Regions from separate parts of the Homo sapiens genome. Here region 1 is linked to region 2. Evidence: promoter capture Hi-C in 16 types of primary human blood cells and fetal thymus (Javierre and others, 2016). All regions are on one chromosome and are shown on one strand. The core of a region is centred on a gene start or on the middle of the fragment in contact, and the rest is flanking DNA. Distances in the headings are between cores, read along the strand shown. Region 1 has its middle 46 kb from the start of CRNN. Region 2 holds the start of THEM4 (thioesterase superfamily member 4).

What was found. The method cuts DNA at HindIII sites, captures the fragments that hold promoters and counts their contacts. A CHiCAGO score of 5 or more calls a contact.
Region 1: a fragment that was not itself captured here is called in contact with the fragment with the promoter of THEM4 in region 2 in 3 of 17 cell types (naive CD8 T cells, total B cells and activated CD4 T cells); the score reaches 6.4 in naive CD8 T cells.

Annotation. Positions count from the first base shown.
Region 1 is chr1:152,456,370-152,463,762 of GRCh38, reverse strand. No RefSeq gene overlaps it. Among named protein-coding and RNA genes, the nearest start is that of CRNN, 46 kb to the right of the region's middle. RefSeq lists enhancers at 3,198-3,257, 5,176-5,245. The HindIII fragment of the contact is 1,034 bases long and covers 4,202-5,235 here.
Region 2 is chr1:151,905,273-151,911,778 of GRCh38, reverse strand. THEM4 (thioesterase superfamily member 4) reads left to right here and starts at 2,268. Exons shown (of 6, transcript NM_053055.5): 1 at 2,268-2,419. The coding sequence starts at 2,321. RefSeq lists enhancers at 1,296-1,883, 1,872-1,991, 4,983-5,522 and a silencer at 2,232-2,541. The HindIII fragment of the contact is 4,270 bases long and covers 22-4,291 here.

The sequences.
Region 1 (7,393 bases), core at 3,469-5,968, 550 kb before region 2:
ATGCTGGATAGGCAAGTCTGAAATCCATAGAGCAATTTCGTTTACTTAAAGTGAACTGATTACAAATATTAATCACATCTTTAAAATACATTTACAACAAAACCTAGATTAGTGTTTGGTTGAATAACATATAACTGATCAACAAATAGAGTTTATTTTAGAAACAGTTTCAAACCTCTTTCAAATTTGAAAGGCAATTAATGATTAATTAACATTAATAAAGTAAAGGAGAAATATAATATGGTCATCACAATAGAAATAGAAAATAATAATAAAAGATATTCAGATTAGAAAAAATAAAACTTATTATTCTCAGATGACATGATTGTGTTCGTGTAAAATCAAAAATAATGTACAAAACAACTAAAATTATAACTAAACTTAACAAGGATGATAGATAAAAGTCAATTTACAATAAATCAATTGTATTTTGATTTATTAGCAACCATCAAATAAGAAATAAAAATTTTAAGATATCATTTATTATAGCACCCACAAACATCAAACAAACAGAAATAAATCTGTTAGAAAATGTGCAACTTCTCTAGGCTGAAAACTATAAAATAGTACTGAGAGAAATGAAAGAAGTCCTAAATAAATGAAAAAATATTCAATATTTATGAGTTAGAAATTTGATATTGTAACATGTCAATTATCTTCACTTTTTTGTATAGAGTTAAAGAAATTCTCATCCCAGCAGGGTTTTTTAAATAAAATTGACAGGCAAATTCTAAAACGTGTATGAAAATGCAAAGAATTGGTCGGGCGTGTTGGCTCTGCCAGCACTTTGGTGGATCACCCGAGGTCAGGTGTTCGAGACCGGCCAGCCTGACCAACATGGTGAAACCCCTTCTCTACTAAAAATACAAAATTAGGGCCGGGCGCGATGGCTCGCGCCTTTAATCCCAGCGCTTTGGGAGGTCGAGGCGGGCGGTCACGAGGTCAGGAGTTCGAGACCAGCCTGACCAACATGGTGAAACCCTGTCTCTACTAAAAATACAAAATTAGGGCCGGGCGTGATGGAGCGCGCCTGTAATGCCAGCTAATCAGGAGGCTGAGGCAGGAGAATCGCTTGAACCCGAGAGGCAGAAGTAGCAGTGAGCGGAGATCGCGCCACTGCACTCCAGCGTGGGCGACAGAGTGGGACTCCGCCTAAAAAAAATTAATAAATATATACAAAATTAGCCAGGCGTGGTGGCGCATGCCTGTAATCCCAGCTACTTGGTAAACTGAGGCAGGAGAATCGCTTGAACCTGGCAGGCGGAGGTTGCAGTGAGCCAAGATCGCGCCATTGAACTCCAGCCTGGGCAACAAGAGTGAAACTCAAAAAAAAAAAAAAAAAAAAAGGAAGGAAGGAAGGAGCAAAGAGAATAGCCCAGCCAGCCAATATTTTAAAAAGGGATAAATTTGCGAGATTTATACCGCCCGATATCAAAATTTGTTATAACATTGCAGTAACTACGACTGCGGTATTAGTTTGAAAGTAGAACAATAGAACAAAATAAGAAGTCAAAAACGTTCCCATACATATACGGCCAACTAAGTTATGACAAAACTCCACTGCAATGTAGTAGGGGAAAAAAAAATGGTAGGAAATGATTCTGGGTCATTTGAATATCCATGTGGGGAAATAAATGAACCTTGACCCCTACCTCAATCCATACAAAAATATTTGTAAGAAATGGATCATAGACCTAAATGTGAGGGTTAAAATAATCCAGCTTCTAAATTAAAACAGAAGAAAATATACTGGGTAGACAAAGATTTCCTAAACAGGACATAAAAAGTACTATTTTATAAAAGAAAAATTATTTTATATTTTATAAAAGAAAAAACTGATAAATTGAAATCCTTAAAATTAAAAACTTTTAGTTCTTGAAAGACATTGAAAAGAGAGCGTGTAGGGAAGCAATAGGAAGATTTTGTGTCATATCTATCTGTATCTATGGCTACAGTTGTGTAACTTCTTTTATTTTTAATTCGCTGATTCCCCACGAGAGGGCGCCTTTCCACAAGTCCTTATTTAGCACAGCACTGATGGCCATAGACAATGCTCGAGCCTGGCTTTCTAGCACATCTCCATTTCCCAACACAGAGGCTAAGCCCTTTGTGGGAGGCACACATGTAGTCAGACAATCCTGGTAATATGTGATACGTTTGGGGAAAAATTTTTTTTAACAGTGACTTAAGACCTGGTAAGGTATCTGTGTGGCCAGATTAAAGGATAAGAGTGAGTTAGTAAAACCTAAAATGAACTGGGCGTGGTGGCTCACGCCTGTAATCCCAGCACTTTGGGAGGCCGAGACGGGCGGATTACGAGGTCAGGAGATTGAGACCATCCTGGCTAACACGGTGAAACCCCGTCTCTACTAAAAATACAAAAATATTAGCCGGGCGTAGTGGCGGGAGCCTGTAGTCCCAGCTACTTGGGAGGCTGAGGCAGGAGAATGGCGTGAACCTGGGAGGCGGAGCTTGCAGTGAGCCGAGATAGCGCCACTGCACTCCAGCCTGGGCGACAGAGCGAGACTCCGTCTCAAAAAATAATAATAATAATAAATAAAATAAACCTAAAATACAGGCAGTTCGTCTCTTTTTAGAAGTCAAAACCTTAACATCTGGGAGTGTCCGTATGAATTTTGGCCCCTAAAAATCTTAAAAAGGGATGTTTTTGAGTTGCCAGCATCAATACTTAGTATAAAAAGTTTATAAGTGCAATAACTCTTTGGAACTCTATCACCAAAGGAGGACATTCTTCTTCTATTTAGATGTCACACATCTCCACAAACCGAAATGCAGTCTGTTTCCTATTTATTGTTATATGTTGCCTGCATTCTTTCTTTCAACAGTTATTGAACACCTTGCTGTGTCCTAGGACCTGTGCACATCTTCTGGGATCTGCCATAATTTAATGCTAATTCTCTGTCCCCCTCTGGGAGAAGACAAACACATTAGCCACATGGTGATTAGATGTAGTTCAAGGTGTCTTAGGGTCTCTGAGGACTGGGGAGTTTGGAGAGTGTAAGGGATGGATCTTGGAAGTAGGTGATTTTTGAAGTAGGTGATGTTGGGGGACATCTTGGATGTACAGATTGTTTTTCGTAAGGTATACCAGCACAAGCAAAGGCAAAGGGACATTTGCATGATGCTACCATGAGGTATTATATACATAAAGTGTTTCGGGAAGACTGAAATAATTAATTTGCTAGAGTCACGTATAGAAAGGCTTCATTTGCCATTTCCAAGTAAAGAAGAATGAAGATTGACTGGGTGAAAAGGCGGTTTATGCACACAACCAGCAGGTGGCGCCCACCCTTCTGCACATCTAGCAGCCTGGTTAGTCCCTCCCAAATTACAGCAACCAGGAAGGAGTCAAATGCTGATGTCCACCTGGGCCAACCCTCACCCCCACACACATCCCACACCTTATACTCTGAGCTACTCTGAACCCACTACCTACAGAAACTAGAACAGATAGGAAACAGCATGGTTAAAAATGTTCCACACTTGCTTTCACTTTCAAGAAGAATGTCACTTCTGTGCTTTTACTTTCAGATAATTTAAAAACCAAAAGTCTACTTAATGCCAAAAAAAAAAAGAGAAGTAAAAATAGTAATTGATTTCAGAGTGGTGAGGACGCTGGACCTAAAACCAGGGGTACAAGGAAGCAGCCTCGGTGTGGTGGGGATCAGTGAGAGCCTGTGACTCCTGGGGCCCTCCTCGGCCACTGAGCTGGGGCTCACTGACACCAGGAGGCCAGCTCAGAGCATGGCAGCTGCTGCAGGCAGGGCCACTCGGCCGAATGAAGGCAATGGGGTGCAGAGGAGAGAACGGGGCTCTGGAGCCAGAACATCTGCTTTGCTGGCTCTGTGGCCATGTGTGAGTTACCCACTCTCACCAAACCACTATTTCTCAACTTCTAAATTGGTCCATAACACACTCCCAGAGGAGTTGACATGATCAGCATGTTTAAGTGCCTAGTGGTGCCCAGCATATAATATATACTCAGTCAGTAGAGGTAGCTCAACCCCATTACTCTCCTCTCTCACTCCCTTCCAGCCACACTGGCCTCTTTGCTGTATCTTGTGTAGATCAGGAATGATTTCACCTTAGGACATTTGCATTGGCTTTTCCCTCTACCTGGAATCTTCTTACCCAAGATATCTGCTTGGCTCCCTCCCTATATTTCTTTCAAAAGTAAGCTTCTTAATAAAGCAGAGCTGACCAGTCCATTTAAATTACAACTTACCCTTTATCCTTGCCACTTGCACTCTCATTCCTTATTCAGCTCTATTTCTATAGTGGTTACCGCCTTCTAACATGTTGTATAATTTACATATTTATTAGGGTTATTGTTTACTGCCTACTACTCCCACCCACATATCCCAGCTTTTATCTATTCTGTTTACTGCTGTATCTCTAGAGTCAATAACACTGACTGGACATCGTAGACACTCAACAAATACTTATCAGTTTTATGAATGAATGGATGCATGGATAGATGCTCTTCCATCTTCAAAAATCAAATATCATCTGTCAAACAGAGAGAGCAGGTGTTAAGGTCAAAGGCGATCCCTTATGTGAAAGGGCAGGTGGAGGAGGAAGCACTGCACCATGGAAAACTGTGTTCCAGGTGGTTGCCAAGAATACTCAGAAGTTAGAGATGAAGGGCTGCCCCAGACACAGCCTTGGGGCCCAAGATTCATACTGCTGTTAGAGGGGCACAAACTTGCTGGGTTTTGACTCTGGGAGGAAAACCACGTGTGGGGTCTTAAGCGGGGCCCTGTGTCTTTGGGGATTCACATTTGTTGCACCCAACTATACTCTGGAGCTTCAGAAATCAATGGAAGTTGCTCTGGATTCAAAAATCAATAGAAGTTGCTCCCTTCCCTGGAGATGCCCACGGTCAACCTTTGTCTTTTGGAGTCAGGCTAACCTGAAGTTGAATCCCAGCTCTACCACCATTGAGTTATGACCTTGGACAAATCACGTAAATTATCTGAGTTTACACTTCTATACATGGCAATATTAGTGGCCACTTTTCAGCAGACTGCCTACACACAGTGTGAATTTGAGAAATACTAGTTCCCTTACCGTTCCGTCTTCCATCTCTGAAACTTCGCTGGAGCTCCATCTTCTTGAGACATGGCGATGCATTTCAGGAGTTTCCCTGAAGAGGGAGCCAGAGCACCACGGAAATCCTAATTGTTGGCTGACAGCAGTCAGCGCAGGGAAGCTTATGGGCACAGCCAGTCAGCAAGTCTTTTGGGTCCAGACCTCGGCTTCCTCTCTCTCAATGCCTTCTATCAAAACCCCCCCACCTTGTGCCAAGTGCTGCTCACAGTCTGCCAAGCAGCTCCCCTATCTCAGGCTCTACCTAGTCAAAATGATCTTTCAATCAAAATTCCAATTTTCTTTTCAGTCACTTTATATAGCTGTTGTCATAGTAAGTGACAACTTGGTTTAATAAAGCCAGTTGTGCCAGGATGTTGCTAGGTAATATTTGCTACTTCTAGGTAACGTGTATATTTTAACAGGTGCCTTCTGATGATACATATGGGGACAGGTAGGCATTCCAAATGCTGAGATCCAGTGCCACTCACCTTTAGACCACCCTGCATTCCATGGGCTATACTTAATATTTGGTGCTTACCCACAGTAAGCTTACATTAGGTTGAACACATAAAATTGTTCATAATCCACCATTTTACCTACAAAACAACAATTTCATATGGTCCAAAATAATATTTCACTTCTTCACCCCCACTCAATTTCAGTGTAGACTCCAGGTCTTTTTTTTTACTTTCCCCATCACATTTTTGCCCTCAAGCACTGTTTTCACTCTTGTTATATTCCCCCCCTCCAGCCCTACCTCAGTTTCCAGTTCCTACACCTTGCCTAGGCCACACCTCACCCTTGCAGGGCATCTCCCTGCTGAGGCAGCTGCTGTGATGGGATTGGTCCCACCTGCCATCTCCAAAATGAGCACAACAGGGCTTTGTCCAGCCAAGAACATAGGGCTCCAGCTCCTCCCATACCACAATATCCCATGAGCACTCTCTCAGTCTCCCAGCAAACTTCTCTGCCCTCGCAGACTCTGGAGTGCCAGTCCCATCGAGTAACTATCTGAAACCCTTTGAGTCTAATTGTCTTCAGATGTGAAATGTAAAAGGACAATGCACACCACATAAGGTTGACATAAGGAATGACTGGCGTAATGGTTGTAAAAAGCCTAGCACTGTGCCTGGCAGATGGCAGTCATTCTGCAAGGTACAGTTGCCCTCTCAGAACCTAGGCATGGTGTACAAGACCAAAGCCCCCAAAGCAACTCATTGTCCTGTCCACCTCTTCCTAAAATGCCATGTTATTGTTGCACCCCCATAGGCACCATTTTGTCAAGTGTGGTCTGGTCCTATTCTCCAAGCACTCTGTATCACACACTCCTGTGATTGCCACAGCATGGGGCAGGGCTGGCCTGGTAACTCCCTAAGGGACTAAGTCCTGCCTCACCAACAGTCTTCTATTCTGTCCTGGGCCCCTGAGATTCTGCCCTTCCACACAACAAGAGTAGTGACTGTGATACCAGAACCACATGACATGTTAAATAAAGAGGCTCTGTAAAGAGGAGCAGAGAGATGTGTGCCCCGGAGGGGAGGGAGGTGGTCAGGCTGGGGGTGAAGAGTGGTGGGACTTGGCCCTAGGAACTCCTGCCCTTTTGTCCTCCTTCCTGCCATACCCTCTCCTGTGTGTTCTTAGCATCTCACCCCCACTCCTCATCTCTCCAGTTCTAAAACAGTCTGTCAAGGCTTCTGGAAGTGGAGAGAGACCCAGGCTGGTTATGGAGGGATTATAAGGAACTGCTAAACACAAAAGACAATGGTCAGCCTCACCCAGACAAAGGCAAATGCCTGTCTTAGTGGGGAGATTGCATGTTCATCCAATTTGAAATTTTAAACAGATGTATAACTCTAAATACTTTAGAATTACAATGTTAGGTTGTGATTTTGAAAAATACCAGAAAAAATGGTATTATGCTAGCAAAAATATAAAGTGGAAATTTCCTCTTCCAATGGGAATGGAGTTACAGGGATGGATTTATCCTGTAACCTGAAACAACTACATAATCTGACAAGCTATAGTTGGCCTTCCTTATACTTGACTTCTACATCCATGGATTCAACCAACCATGGATCAAAAACATTTGAAAAAATACAATAAAAATACAATTTAAAAATACAGTATAACAACCATTTACATAGCATTTACATTATATTAGGTATTATAAGTAATCTAGAGATGTTTTCATGTCTACAGGAGGATGTGCATAGGTTATATGCAAATATCTTGCCATTTTACGTGAGGGATTTGAGCATCTCCAGATTTTGGCATCTTCAAG
Region 2 (6,506 bases), core at 1,019-3,518:
CTTGCCTAAACCATACAAGCTTCAAACTCCTTCACTTCCATAGCCTATCAATCCTATTTCTAGACTGTAACCTGCCCTTCCTCTTCCAAATCTGACCAGACATTTTATATGTGCTGTCAACACGAATATCCCAGAGTAAGCCATGCAAGAGTGTGGATGACTTAACTAAATGCACTGCCGCTACTTGAAAAATTTAGAGTTAAAATTTAATGAAGTTTAAACTCAGTGTAACTGACCTCTAATTGCCCTAAGTCTAAGGTCTTTTAAGAAGCTGATAGGTGCCGAGTGCAGTGGCTCATGCTGGTAATCCCAGCACTTTGGGAGGCAGGCAGATCACTTGAGGTCAGGAGTTCAAGACCAGCCTGGCCAACAGGGTGAAACCCCGTCTCTACCAAAAATATAAAAATTAGCCAGATGTGGTGGCACGCGCCTGTAATCCCACCTACTCGGGAGGTTGAGGCAGGGAGAATCGCTTGAACCCTGGAGGCAGAGGTTGCAGTGAGCCAAGATCATGCCACTGCACTTCCAGCCTGGGCAACAGAGTGAGACTCCATCTCAAAAAAACAAAAGGAAGCTGTTAGGTGAGCTATTGGTACATTAATCATATAGACAATCTTAGCAGGGTTGAAGTCTATAGGTATTGATTGATTTGACTACACTGTAAATTGTAAATAGATGCAATTTTAAGTTACCTGAATAAACTTTTCTATTCATTAACAGTAGTCATCTCAATTTTAGAGATTTACGTTATGCTCGTGCCTCCATCTGCACGCACAACATGGGAAGACAACAGACACCAAAGATACTTTGGATTCTTGCTGCTAAGTAAGTATTCAAGCACTACGTGCACGTTGTTACAATTAATAAGGCAATCTGACCCCATCCCTGCCACCAGGAAACTGCAATACTATTAATATATTAAAAAGGAAGACAACTGAGATAAAGGGAATGTGGGAGGTTGGGGGGGGTGCTTAGGAGATATCAGAATACAACCTCTTAGAATTACAGAATCTCAACAACCATCCTTTATGCCTGATCTTCGGTTCAGTAGCTCTAGGATTCCAAGGGGCCCCTCCTAACTGCATTGCCTTCTCTCCCCAATTCCCTTTCTCTCAGAATGTTACACCTTCCCCCAGTTAATAGTGTAGGCTTAAAATGTATCTAGGTGTTCTTACCTACTGACAAACTGCTGGAGTTGTTCATGGGAAAGGAATCAAGGCAAAATATCTAATGCATTCAGGTCATTCGAGTTTTCTTTTTAATTTATTGCTTTTTTGAGATGGGGCATCAGTATGTTGCCCAGGCTGAAGTGCAATAGCAGTATCTCTGCGAGACTCTGTCTCAAAAAAAACCCATTAGAGTCTTCACCTTAGGATGGACTAGGGCTATGGCATACTGGTAAGCATTTAAAAATAAAGGGGTATGATGGCCCGGATTTGCATTATCTGAGTAATGGGAATACTCCAACCCAGTCCGATTTCAAGGTCCCAGTGAGGTTACTGAATTCGAAGCTCAGAAGGTATGCGCCTAGTATTCCCACCATACGAATACAAGCGAGGTAAGTAACCTCAAAAGCATCGATAACAGTAAAATAGTTACAATACCTGTTACGCCTTTAGTATCCATTACCTTCGTTTAATTTAACTGTCAGTTTACATAACAAAAGAGTCTTTTAAGGCGTAAGCGCGCTCCTGGGGAGGGTATGGGGCTGTTGGCAGGGAAAGCAGCTTTTCGATCGTATAAATGCTCTTTGTGCCCAGACTGCCCTCTATAAATCAGCACTATCAACCCTGTCCAGAGACTTGCCCATGACCTCCAAGAAAACACTTTATTCATACTACTCCTAGCGTGCGCTCCTACCCGCCCCAGGGACTTCAGTCTTCCGGGGGAGGGATAACTACTTGGGGACACGGAGCACTGCGTACGCCCTGGGTCATGTGGGAAGGATGACCGCAAAGCCTCCAGTCGGCGCGCGGGTTCCGGGGCTGAGGGGCTGAGGGGCCCAAGGCGATAACCGGGATCCGCTCCGGCCGCGCTCCTCTTGCCTTTGAGAAGCCCCGGAAGTGGCCCGGCTGTTGGCCGCAGCGGGAGGTCTTCGGAAAGAAAAGGCCGGAACCAGAAGATAGACTCAACAGCGATGCCCTACCCGGACCCCGCCGGCCTCACACCCCGGCCAGCCAGCCGCCAGTAGTGCGCACCGCCTCCTCCCCAAGCCCCGCCCTGCGTCCACCCCAGGGGTTAACTCGCACGCGCGCTCTTGTGGCGGAGGTAGAGTGCGCCGTCCAGGGCTAGAGCAAGCGCGGCCCCGCGGCCCGGAGCCATGCTGAGGAGCTGCGCCGCGCGCCTCCGCACGCTGGGGGCTCTGTGCCTGCCGCCAGTAGGCCGGCGCCTGCCGGGAAGCGAGCCGCGACCCGAGCTGGTGAGTCTGGGCACCCTCGGGCATGGGGCGGGAGCAGGACTCAGAAACACGCCTGCGGTAACAGAGCCTTCGATTGTTATCCATACCCCAACCAGCCAATCTCAGAATAAAAGCTCACCTGGGCACCACAGGGCAGCATAAGCAACAGGGGCCTAGGAATACAGTCCTGAGATTCAAACCGTTAGAAAAGGGATGGAAAGGTGACCCCGTTTTTTTGTTTTTTAAGAGACAGGGTCGGCAGGGCGCTACCTGAACTGCATAATTTAGTCTGTCTATTTATATTTTGACAACATCTGTATTTTACCAATAATATTTGAGGCTGTTTTTATTTTTCAAAGATTAAAGTGACGTGAACTAAAAGATACCACAGCTTTTATCTTCCCTTTAAAAAAATATTTGATCCAAACGCTTATCTTCCTTTAGGTCAATTAATTAGAGATCTTTTTATAGACATCACACACAACACATATATAACTACACAGACAGGCAGAAGAAAACCCAGTTGCCATAAGATCTTTCATCACAGGGAGAGGGATCTATCTGCTTTTAATTCCTGGGGTTCCATGAGGAAAACAGAGATCGCCCCTCTTATGCAGGCATTAAAAGTGGCAAGGCAAAATGGAGAAAAATAACTCAGTCGACCGCAAAGAAACACTTTTTCCAGCAAAATAAGGTCCAAGAAAAGGAAAACATAAAGGCCTTATAAATATAATTACAACTTAGATATCTACTTTTAATTAAGCTGAGCACTCCTTAAGAAAATTCTTTTAACACCCTTATTATCTAACTTTAGCTCCACCAAGCGGCCAATATTTCTGGCTTTCAAACTTTACTTAAAGGCTCAGAGAAAGGAAAATCCAAGGTGGTTGGTGGAGGGCAGGGGAATCGACAAATAGCGAAAGGGCATACAGATACCAAACCAGAAAGGACTCATTCCCTAAGCCAGGATGAATCTGGGCCATGCCGGGCTAAACGAAGCTATGCAATGGGGTTACAGGCCACGCCCCCAAGGACGTAAAACAAGATGGAGGCCTGCAGCGAAGTTTGCTGTGGAGCATACAGAAAGACATGCAAAACACACAGATTGGCTACAGCTTACGACTTACCTCACAAATCCTTTCGCACAAAACTTTACAGAAAATATAAACGGTAATCCTCATCATTCCCAAAAGAGCAAAACGTCTTCCAAAAGGAAAAGAAAAACCTCCTTTAAAAGTATACTGCTGATGGGTTGGAGAGGAGATAAGGATGCCTGGGGGAAGAACCTCTTATTCCTATGCAAATGGTTCCTCCACCAGAGAGAGGAGCTTAATTGCTGTGGGACAGAGCTAGACTCCCTGGAATGGGGAGGGGGAGACTGCAGGCACCTGGTAGGGAACGCCAGCCAGCCATGCCGGCGCCTTGGAGCCTGGGCAGTGGCTGTGGCTCATTTATGCCCTGTGTGGCTACTGGACACCACACACACATGCTGCAGACACCACCATGCACCCCAGCCAGTAAAGAAGTGGGGCCAGGGAGCTACCCCACCCAACTGTCTTGTGAGTGCACTGGTGACCATTGGGGTGGGTGTGGACCACCTCCAGTATCGTAAAAAGAAAAATAGGTGCCGTTGCTGTCCCCCCAAAAAGAAGAGGAATGCCATAAGACCAAAAGGCTCAGAAATGAAAGTGAGAGGTTTTGAGTCCCCATTTCACTCATCCTTCTGTTGCAGGAATGAAGGAGGACTGGAGAGGCCATGGGGTGAGACAGGAGAACTTTATTGAGTGCACTCAGACCCAGCGGACTAACATCCAAAAGCTGGGCCCAGAACAAAGACAGCACTTGACTTTAATACACACTTTTAAAAGGGGGTGGGCTAGCTTGAAACAAGCTTACAGTGGCGTGAAGCATAGTGGCGTGAAAGCAAGGATACAGAGGCAGCACAAAGGCAATTAATTCATCAAATTGTGACAGGTGCATAATTCAGGATTACATACTGTGTCGGAATTGATGGGTTCTTGGTCTCACTGACTTCAAGAAAGAAGCCACGGACCCTCGTGGTGAGTGTTATAGTTCTTAAAGGCGGCATGTCCGGCGTTTGTTCCTTCTGATGTTCGGATGTGTTCAGAGTTTCTTCCTTCTGGTGGGTTCATGGTCTTGCTGGCTCAAGAGTGAAATTGCGGACCTTCGTGGTGAGTGTTATAGCTCTTAAGGCAGCACGTCTGGAGTTGTTCGTTCCTCCCGGTGGGTTTGTGGTCTCGTTGGCTTCAGGAGTGAAGCTGCAGACCTTCGCGGTGAGTGTTACAGCTCATAAAGGCAGTGTGGACCCAAAGAGTGAGCAGCAGCAAGATTTATTGCAAAGAGCGAAAGAACAAAGCTTCCACAGTGTGGAAGGGGACCCGAGCGGGTTGCCACTGCTGGCTTGGGCAGCCTGCTTTTATTCTCTTATCTGGCCCCACCCACATCCTGCTGATTGGTAGAGCCAAGTGGTCTGTTTTGACAGGGCCCTGATTGGTGCATTTACAATCCCTGAGCTAGACACAAAGGTTCTCCACGTCCACACCAGATTAGCTAGATACAGAGTGTCAACACAAAGGTTCTCCCAGTCCCCACCAGAGTAGCTAGATACAGAGTGTCGATTGGTGCATTCACAACCCCTGAGCTAGACATAGGGTGCTGATTGGTGTGTTTATAAACCTTGAGCTAGATACAGAGTGCCGATTGGTGTATTTACAGTCCTTTAGCTAGACATAAAGGTTCTCCAAGTTCCCACTAGACTCAGGAGCCCAGCTGGCTTCACCCAGTGGATCTCGCACTGGGGCTGCAGGTGGAACTGCCTGCCAGTCCCACGCTGTGTGCCCACACTCCTCAGCCCTTGGGTGCTCGATGGGACTGGGCGCCGTGGAGCAGGGGGCAGCACTCATCAGGGAGGCTCGGGCCGTGCAGGAGCCCACGGAGGGCGTGGGAGGCTCAGGCATGGCAGGCTGCAGGTCCCGAGCCCTGCCCCGCCAGAAGGCAGGTAAGGCCCAGTGAGAAATCGAGCGCAGCGCCAGTGGGCCGGCACTGCTGGGGGACCCAGTACACCCTCTGCAGCCACTGGCCCGGGTGCTAAGCCCCTCATTGCGTGGGGCCGGCAGGGCCGGCTGGCTGCTCCGAGTGCAGGGCCCGCCAAGCCCACACCCACCTGGAACTCCAGCTGGTCCACAAGCACCCCGCGCAGCCCTGGTTCCTGCTCGCGCCTCTCCCTCCACACCTTCCTGCAAGCTGAGGGAGCCGGCTCTGGCCTTGGCCAGCCCAGAAAGGCGCTCCCACAGTGCAGCAGTGGGCTGAAGGGCTCCTGAAGTGCCGCCAAAGTGGGAGCCCAGGCAGAGGAGGCGCCGAGAGGGAGCGAGGGCTGTGAGGACTTCCAGCACACTGTCACCTCTCACTATGACCCTTGCTTATGCAGCCCAGGTGGCTGTTATCTAGGCTTGCTCAAAAGAGCCTTGCAAGTGCTTATCTCATAATCTTCACTATGGTGCCCAGACGGCCGCAGCCTAGGCCTACTCAGGCATGTCTTATAACCTTCACTGTGCTGTTTAGATAAAACAGAATACTTGAAGTTACTAGTTACAGAAAACAGGAATCTATAAACTCATAAAACTTGCAGAGCAAGGTACAATCACACGGAAGGGGATGGGATTCAAGGGGGAACTTTACTTTTTCTTATCCTTTTGTTGAGGGAGTGCTGGAAGAGTCTCCAGAGCACATCCTTTGAGCCCTGGTTTCTTTGAGAATGTTATCAAGACTACACCCGGGTCAGGGCTTTGCCTGTTACTGCCTTTGGGATGAGTCAGCCTCATATAGAAAGCTTGTTTTTCACTTTTTAAATTTTATTTTGCTTTCTTCAATTTCCTGCCTCACTTCCTCAGGCCCCATATTTGAGCGCCAAACACAGTTAGGGTGAGAGTGAGACTCTGTCTCAAAAAAAAAAAGGACTTTCTTCTCAATTCATCTAAGTTCTTGTCACACAATCAGGAAAGATCAGTCTTGTGGACACAGAAGGGTGAGAATAATGGAATTTATTGGGCAAAAAAGGAAAAAGAGAAAAACCTCAGCAGAGGAAGAG